3 separate regions of the Homo sapiens genome follow, and regions 1 and 3 are each linked to region 2. The links are contacts of gene promoters, found by promoter capture Hi-C in blood cells and fetal thymus (Javierre and others, 2016). All regions are on one chromosome and are shown on one strand. The core of a region is centred on a gene start or on the middle of the fragment in contact, and the rest is flanking DNA. Distances in the headings are between cores, read along the strand shown.

Region 1 (2,900 bases), core at 299-2,798, 610 kb after region 2:
AGTTGACAGATTGGTACATAAAAATGTGTACCCCAAGTCTCCCATCAGCTGGATGCAGCCACATGATTTATTTCTAATGGATAATTTTTTAAGCATTAAACAACCTTCTTAGTCTCCTACTCTTTTCCTTGGAAGATGGATGTCATCACCCATTATTTTTCAGCCTTCCATTTGTGAAAGAATCCTTTCTACAAATTCACTAACTGCTTCAGCCTGTCTGCTTCCAAAGTCTCTCTACCTACTCTTAGCTGATGCTGGTGGAGTTAATCTCTTCCCAAAACTGACTGACAGCTCTGATATTAGCACCACTTTTTCTTACGTCCTGATGGGCTTAGATGTCAACTAGGCGGTAGTTTAGTAGGAAAGGAACTATTAGTATGACTCGAAAGCAAGATTTTGATTTTTTTTTTCTTTCAGCAATGGTCTTCAAATAAATACCCATGTGGACAGCCTCATGCAAAGAGAATCTTTTCATACAGTTTGTGAATTTTATCGTAATCCTTAAAGGTAGTATCAGCAAATTCCAGACACCAGGACAAGCCCATGTCTAGTATTTGAAGTGCCTGGGGCAAAGCGACAAATGGAAACCTATGGGTCATATGTCTAATATTTAAAATTGACAAAATCAAGCCAGCAAACATTTAAATAAAAGACATCTGTCCACTGGGCATGGTGGCTCATGCCTGTAATCCCAGCACTTTGGGAGGCTGAGGCAGGCGGATCACGAGGTCAGGAGTTGGAGTCCAGACTGGCCAACATAGTGAAACCCCATCTCTACTAAAAATACAAACAATTAGCCAGGAGTGGTGGTGGGCGCCTGTAATTCCAGCTGAGGCAGGAGAGGCTGAGGCAGGAGAATCGCTTGAACCTGGGAGGCAGAAGTTGCAGTGAGCCAAGATTGCGCCATTGTACTCCAACCTGGGCGACAAGAATGAAACTCCATCCAAAAAAAAAAAAAAAAAAGAAAAAGAAAAAGAAAAGAAAAAAGAAAAAAAGAGTCCCAAAGAGTCTGTCTTCCTTCCTTGGCAGATACAATTTCATAATGACCTTAAAGACTCAGAATGTAAACTTCTCAGAATTCTTTGCACTCTACCCAGCACGTGGCAGCACAAGGATTGCCAGCTCTTGGTTCTCAGACCTCACCCAAGATCTTCCTTAATTCCCCACCCACTCTCCTCTGCACCACTGAGGCTCCTGGTGCGGGTATGTGGATTGCCCAGACCACGTGGCCAAGCTTCATCTACTCCCTTCCCCTCCCCAAATGGTTGTCCTTTGGCCACCCCTTGGAAAATGGACCAAGGAATTGGCCTATATAGGCTCTGAAGTTGGGTTAAGGTCCCTTTGAGGAGGGAATTCTAGAGTTTGGGTACCCAGGGCATGGCCTAAGAGTGCAATTTGTAGGGTCTTGGTGGGAATATCCCCTCACTCCTAACTCCTCTGCCTGTCAAGAGAGGTGTGGCTAATAAGGACCAGAGCAGGATCCAAGGTAGGCATCTTTCGTGGATTTAAAAATCACTTGCTTTTAAATCCAAGCTCCAAATTTAAAAGAAGTACTGGGTGGGCCTGGGACCGGGAATGGTAACCTATCATTACAATCACCAGCATACTGGGAAAAAAAACATGGATTTGCAATCACACAGGCTTGGGCAAAATCTTAGCTCTACTACTCACTGACCATGTGTTCTAAGACAAGACACTTAGCCCTCTGGGTCTCAGTTTCCTCATTTGTCAAGTGGTGACAGTAACTACCAGGGAAGGGTGTGGTGAGAAAGTCACATAATCCTCTATGCAACAAGGCAGTAAAGTGCAATGGCTTCAGGGCATACAGCCTGGATAGGACCCCAACTCCTCCACTCACTTGTGCAAGCTTGGGTAAGCCAACCTCTGAATGCCTTAGTTTCCACACCTAGGAAATGAGGCTCATAGTAGTAGCCACCTCACAGGGTTGTTATGAGGATTAAATGAAACAAGGCATACAAAGCACTGAGAATAGTTCCTGGCACACAGTAAGCTGCAAAGTATGTAGTCCATGGCCTGAAACAGAATCCACAAGAGCAAAGAGCTATCGAGTGCTTACCCTGTGCCTAGTGGGTGCTGTGTGCTGGGGACCCACAAATAAACAAAACAATCTTACCCTCTTGGGGGTTCCAAAGCAGAATTATGACTCACCTTGCTTTGATCTGTCTCACAGGTGCAAGGAGTGATGGCTGGTGATGGGGAAAAGAGGTGGCCTTGGCCTATAAGGACAGCCAGACCCTTCACATCCTTCCTCCTATTTGACCCTCATGCCAACCCTGAGGGGTGGTAGGGCAGGGATTGCTCCCAACGTGTTCCAGATGGAGAAGTCTCTGCTCAAAGTCACACGAGTGATCTGGGTACCCAAACTCTAGAGGGAAGAATTTGGGTACCTTTCCTGGAGACCCTAAGTGGTCTTTCAGACTTTTTGGATCCAGTCCAGAGCCCTGGCGTCCTTCATGATCTGGACCCTGCTGACTGGGGGTCTGCTTCCCCTCCAGTTTGCTGTCTATTTCATGGTTGCATCCAAATTCCTGTGCTTCTCTAAATACTCCTGTGCTGTCCTGCCTCTGAACCTCTGCACAGGCCTTCACCTCTGCTTGGCACTTCCTTGATTGTCTCTTTCTCATGTTTCAAGATCCTATGAGTGATATCTACTCTGCTGAGTTTTCCTTGACAGCACCCCCTTCCCTAGCTGGGCTGAGCGTCCTCCCTTGGTTCCTACAGCACGCTGCACTTACAACCATTCCAGCCCTTACCACTTCACGTTGTCATTACACATCACTTAGCTGCCCTCTGCCCCCAAACATATAGTCTGTGAGCTCCTGGAAACCAGAAACTGAGTCTCCATGCTCACTGTGTCTCCAGTATCCAGCACAATGAGC
Region 2 (2,994 bases), core at 374-2,873:
AGAAAGAACTCTGAAGGATAGGTCAGGAGAACTAAGTCACACAATCCATCAGAAACAGTATTAACAGTTTTTCAAAGTTACACTTTATATGCAAACTTGTACAATTATCATCTTATTATTTTTAAATGTATCTTTACATATATGTATGTGACCTACGTGTTTCCTGGTGTGAGTAAATCTGTATGTTCTTGGTTAATAGTGTTTACCGATTCATTTCACTTCTCTATCTTTGTATGTTGAAATATGAACTACTCTCTGGATGAGAAAAAATGATTACACTTGATTATATTTACCTTTGGAAAGGTAAGTGGTTTGGGTGATTGACTATAATTGTTATCTCTATCATTTTGGATAAACCCCAATCATAAAAATAAGTGTGTTTTGTTTCACACACTGACACATAGACAATACACATTCTTACTTCTTTTCAAAAAGTTAATATGTGAATATAAATGACATATTCCAAATTTACTAAACTGAATACACATTTCATGAAAAAGGAGAGAGGAAAGACATACTAAAAACAGGCCAGGGCCTGGTGTGGTGGCTCACGCCTGTAACACCACCACTTTGGGAGGCCGAGGCAGGTGGATCACCTGAGGTCAGGAGTTCAAGACCAGCCTGGCCAACATGGTAAAACCTTGTCTCTACAAAAATACAAAAATTAGCCGGGCATGATGGTGGGTGCCTGAAATCCCAGCTATTCGGGAGGCTGAGGCGAGAGAATCATTTGAACCCGGGAGGCGGAGGTTGTAGTGAGCCGAGATCGCACCGTTGCACTCCAGCCTGGGCGACAGAGTGAGACTCCATCTCAAAAACAAACAAACAAACAAAAAAACAACAACAAAAGACAAAGATGGACACACTTCGTTGTGTTAAAAGCCTCAAAGACATCTGCATCATTCTAGCTTTGCTCCTAATTTTTAAAATTAATGATTTTAATAGGTTCTTAATTAGGTAAAAACTGCATTAAAACATACTTTGCCATATTTTTCCCAGAAGGATACCTAATTGGGTGGTTTGAGGGGTGCCAGATGTAACAGGAAATAAGACATGTCTTTTAAATAAAGGAAAAGCTCAAAGGCATCCTGCTTGATACTAGAATCAAATATATAAATTGAGGAATAAAACATAACCGGGAAACACATTTATAACTGCATATGAAAAATACAGAGGAGAATTTTTTAATAAAATATATTTTTAAATATTAACTAGTACATTTGAGAGGACAGCATTCAACAGGCCAATGTGAACATACCTTTAATGCAGGAACTCAGGTTCCCCATAAGAAAGACCAGAATCTGTGAAAATGACAGCAAGCATGTTCAACCTGCTATGAACTTTGAAAAACTCAGCACAGACAGTGGCAGTTAGGACCGAGGGCAAGATATACCCAATCACATAACCATGGTGATAGGAGCATCATCAACGTCTCAGGGTAAAGTCACAATGTGTATTGTGAGGTCCGCTTTCTGCTGCACCAACAAGAGTGCTTTCACACGCACAGGAGGGTCATTAAAGATTAGGCCTTTTACGGCAGGGAGTGGTGGCTCACACCTGTAATCCCAGCACTTTGGGAGGCCGAGGTGGGTGGATCACGAGGTCAGGAGATAGAGACCATCCTGGCTAACATGGTGAAACCCCGTCTGTACTAAAAACACAAAAAATTAGCCGGGCGTGGTGGCGGGAGCCCCCAGCTACTCGGGAGGCTGACGCAGGAGAATGGCGTGAACCCGGGAGGCGGAGCTTGCAGTGAGCCGACATAGCGCCACTGCACTCCAGCCTGGGCGACAGAGCGAGACTCCGTAAAAAAATAAAATAAAATAAAATAAAATAAAAGATTAGGCGTTTTACTTAAAAAAAAAACAACAAAACCCAAGCTCATTAATTACTATTCTGTGCTTATTAAAATAAGTTTTAGGAGGAGAAATTGTGTACCCCAAAATACACTCAATGGCAAGAATTTCAAACTGAGCAGGGGCAAAACCGATATGTTAGTAACAACCAGAAGTTCCATTCTCGATTCGAAATTCCATTGCCAAATATTTCTACCATTCCTGAGTCATCTAATATTTCTAGAACCAATAAGCAAACTGTTCAGAATTAAAGACAGCATAAATGGATATTGTTATAAAAGTCATGTTTCTTAAAAAGTGACATTTTTTAAAGTCACATTTTAAAAGTCATATTTCCCTAAAAAGTCATATTTCTACCATTCCTGAGTGATCTAATGTTTCTAGAAGCAATAAACTGTTCAGAATTAGAAAAAAGTGTTACTTGATATTATAAAAATCATATTTCTCTCACAATATAATTATGAAACTTATTTTTCCACTTATCTCTATATATTACTATGCACTTATTTATCTCCCAAACTTTGTGAATTCACAGAGGAATTTGTCTACCATTGTGTATGTAAACGGCTGGCCATTCACTGAGTATTTAAAGGAAAAAAAAATCACTATATTTTCACCAGTGCATCTTCTCGGTGGGGTGAACACTTTGGGTGAATACATATAATTTTTTATTTGAGACAGGGTCTCACTCTGTCACTCAGGCTGGAGTGCAGTGGCTTGATCATGGCTCACTGCAGCCTTGACCTCCCAGGCTCAGGTGATCCTCCCAACTCAGCCTCCCATGTAGCTGGGACTACAGGTTCTTGCCGCCATGCTCAGCTAATATTTTGTAGAGATGGGGTTTTTCCATGGTGCCCAGGCTGGTCTTCAACTCTTGGATTCAAGCAATCCACCCACCTCGACCTCCCAAAGTATTGGGATTAGAGGCGTGAACCACCATGCCCAGCCTAATACATATAATTAAAGTGTTTCTGAATGCAGAATTTTAGATAACTTTCAAAATGTATAACTACGTGTGTATTCTGGCTGATACATAACACCCAATTGCAAATACTTTTATGATATGCCCAAGAAAACAAGCTGTTGAAAGTGACCTGCCCTAAAATAAATAGAACAAATGAAAATTTTAGGGTTAAGA
Region 3 (3,157 bases), core at 460-2,959, 650 kb after region 2:
AGAACAGAGGGATGGCCAGCTCCATCAGGAAGTTAGAACAAGATTCTTGTAAGAGAATGTTTAGAAAAGCAGAGAGGGGTCAGATCATGAAGGGCCATGTTGAAATCAATTTTGATTTGAAGCCAATTGTGAAAGTAAGCCATTGGAGGGTTAGAGACAAGAGGGATATCTGGTCTACCTGGCCACTGTGTAGAAATAGACCTAGAGGATGTGTCTATGAAAGGAGCCAGACAGGTTAGAAGGCCGTTGTAGTCATTTTGGTCCACAGATGTGAAAGTGGGGAGCTGGATTATGTAATTTTCAAGGTCTTTTCCTCTTGAATCATTAGGACAGGACACAGGATATCGCTCCAATGCCAAACTTAATCTGATGGCAAGACAAGGTGCGGATGAGAGGGATTCTGGTGAAAGCCTAGGAAAAGACAGGAAGGCAGGGAAGACGGGCTGGGATAGAACCCAGTAGGCCCCGTGGGTACCCAGCCCCATGCTGCCCTAGCACTAACCACTAGAGGGCAGGAGTGACCAGACCAGACAGAAAAAGAGACTTTATAAGGCAAGTTTGCAAGCTTACTTCTTGGAGGCTGTGGCATGAAGAAAAACTTCACTGGGAAAGGTTAAATAAAGGATGAAAGACTTTCCATACTTGATGGTGAAGCCAGAACCAGAAGTAAGGTGAAAATCATAAGGATACGTTTTGCATCAAAGCAGGAGGAATGAGAGCTGCCCCACAGCGGCAACAGCTACTTTGAGAAGAGATGAGCCACTGATCAGCCTGGACAGGAGAGTGGACATGTCTGCTTGGGTGACTCATTGACACCCCAAACTTCTTTCCTTGCTCACCCTCAGATGAGTTTATGCACCTGGGTTCCCCACTTCCGGAACCCTGTGACCCATCCACTCACTGAGACCTGAACCTAAGTCTCACACTTTGCTCCTCCTTAACCCTGGTGAGTTTCAGCCACTCAATCTCCAAGTCCTGTCAACTCTGTCTCCACTAACATCTTCAGCATCATCCCCTCCTCTCCATCATTCCTACCATAGACTTGGTTCACGTGCTGCTAAAGCTCTCTCCCCTTGCCTATTACAACAGGCTCCTAATCAGCTCCCTCCCTCTAAGCTCAGTCATTCAGTCAACTTTCCACAGAGCAGAGAGAGCTTTCCAAACTACAACCCTAACCAGAGGAAGCCCCCTCGTGACTTTCCACATATCCCTAGGATAAAGGACACACTGTAACCCAGAAATACCTTAATCATTGCCATCTTCTTCAAGGTTTTCCTTGCTACTTTGGCCATGCAGGATGAAACTCTTCTAATGAGTCATGCTCTTCCAAAAGTCCATATCCTTTGTATATACTTTTCCCTCTGCCCGGAATACTGCATCTTATTCCCCTTTTCCTTCACTGCCTGGATACCTAGAGAGGCCATGAAACCTGTAACTGGGAGCACAGGTTTCAAAGGCAGACAGACTCTGGTTCCAATCCCAGCTCTGCCACTTACTCATGTAATATCTATGAGAGTTGGGGTGGCTTATTCAACCTCCGTGCCTCAGTTTCCTCATCTGTAAAACAGGAATAAAAAATAACGGCTACTTTACAAATTGATATGAACACTGAATGAGATAACTGATGTGACACAGTGCAAGGCCTGACATGTCAGGCACTACATGTACTAGCTCCTGCTGTTATTTATTTATTACAGTTGATTTTCTTGTTGTTGTTTGTTTTTGGTTTTGCTTTTGTTTTTGAGACTGGGTCTAGGCTGGAGTGCAGTGGCGCGATCTTGGCTCACTGCATCCTCCCGCCTCAGCCCCACAAGTAGCTGGGACTACAGGCACGTGCCACCACCCCCAGCTAATGTTTGTATTTTTTGTAGAGGAGGGGTTTCACCATGTTTCTCAGGCTGGTCTTCAACTCCTGAGTTCAAGTGCTTGGATTGTAGGCATGAGCCACCACGCCCAGCCCCATTGCTTATTCTTAGCAATCCACATGAAGCTACTGGGAAGATCAAATGAAAGAATGCACAGACGTGCTTTTGAAATAATGAATGATTATACAAATAATAGTAATGAAACATCGTTTTTAGTAGTGGTATCTTTACAATATCATCAGGATGCAGAATTGTTATTCCTGACTTCAACCATCCCTGAGAGTCATTAATGCTTAGAGACTCTGAACACAGAGGCCCCACAGTCACATAGAGGCCCCAAAGCATTTAACCAAACACCTTCAGATTTAATTCCTCCAGAGGAGAAGTATTCAGTTGAATAGTTAACCATGGAAACGTGTTTGTTCACATAGACCCAATCCTAGGAAAATGGAGAAAGTGGTGAGGTTTATTTCTGGATCCTGTACCTCTTTCAAAACCCATCTTCCTCACTTCTTCTTCTTCTCAATACCTCACCCCTAAGATCAGATCTCTTGGCAGGACCTTGTCATTGGAGCCTCTAATTCAGAGAAGCCTCAGGACATAGGAGATGGGGTATTTAAGAATAAGAGAGGGTGTCTGAAGAGGAGGACAGGCCAGATGCCCAGCCCAGAGTACCAGCACCTCAATACAATCACGCTATTAAAATGATTCTTCCAATGGTATAAGGTATAAGGCCTGAAAGCAATCTTTTTGCTCAGTCTTTAAGATTCACTGAGGTGACTCTATTGATGATACTTTGGGCACCATGACAAGCAAAAGGGGAGAAATTTCTTTTGCAAGATTGGGTCATACAAAAGGCCAACCTATACCACTTTGAAAACAAATCCTATATAAAAGGGACTCTTCAAGTGCAAGCCCCCTCCCAAACCCAGGCTAAGGACTACAATGGCCTCAGCACTCTGGTGCTGGACACAGGTAGACAGAGGCAGTAAGCTTGAAGGTTAAGTTCATGGATCCTGGGACCAGGTTGCTTGGGTTCCAATCCCAATTTTGCTATCTACCACCTACAAAGCCTCGAGAAAATTACTTAGCCTCTCTGTGCCTCAGTTTTCTTATCTGCAAAATGGGTATAATAGTACCTACCTCATAGAGTTCCTGCAACTTAACATATGCCAAGTATCTAAAACAGTGCTTGGCACATGGTAAACAATCTGTGTCAGCTGCTATTATTATTCCGATTTTTTTTTAGACAATGTGTTTCCCATTGCCAGAAAGTCTGACAGTGTGGTTAG

The links. Contacts are between HindIII fragments. The CHiCAGO score rates a contact against its expected background, and 5 or more counts as called.
Region 1: a contact is called between a fragment that was not itself captured here and the fragment with the promoter of RFPL3S in region 2, in 1 of 17 cell types (M1 macrophages). The highest score is 6.3, in M1 macrophages.
Region 3: a fragment that was not itself captured here is called in contact with the fragment with the promoter of RFPL3S in region 2 in 1 of 17 cell types (erythroblasts); the score reaches 6.2 in erythroblasts.

Annotation. Positions count from the first base shown.
Region 1 is chr22:32,983,217-32,986,116 of GRCh38, forward strand. The region is part of intron 2 of SYN3 (synapsin III); the gene reads right to left. Among named protein-coding and RNA genes, the nearest start is that of SYN3, 74 kb to the right of the region's middle. RefSeq lists a silencer at 2,868-2,900. The HindIII fragment of the contact is 633 bases long and covers 1,233-1,865 here.
Region 2 is chr22:32,369,641-32,372,634 of GRCh38, forward strand. RFPL3S (RFPL3 antisense) reads right to left here and starts at 1,624. Exons shown (of 5, transcript NR_104232.1): 1 at 1,558-1,624; 2 at 1,259-1,301. The HindIII fragment of the contact is 20,480 bases long and covers 1-2,994 here.
Region 3 is chr22:33,017,934-33,021,090 of GRCh38, forward strand. The region is part of intron 1 of SYN3 (synapsin III); the gene reads right to left. Among named protein-coding and RNA genes, the nearest start is that of SYN3, 39 kb to the right of the region's middle. The HindIII fragment of the contact is 2,293 bases long and covers 564-2,856 here.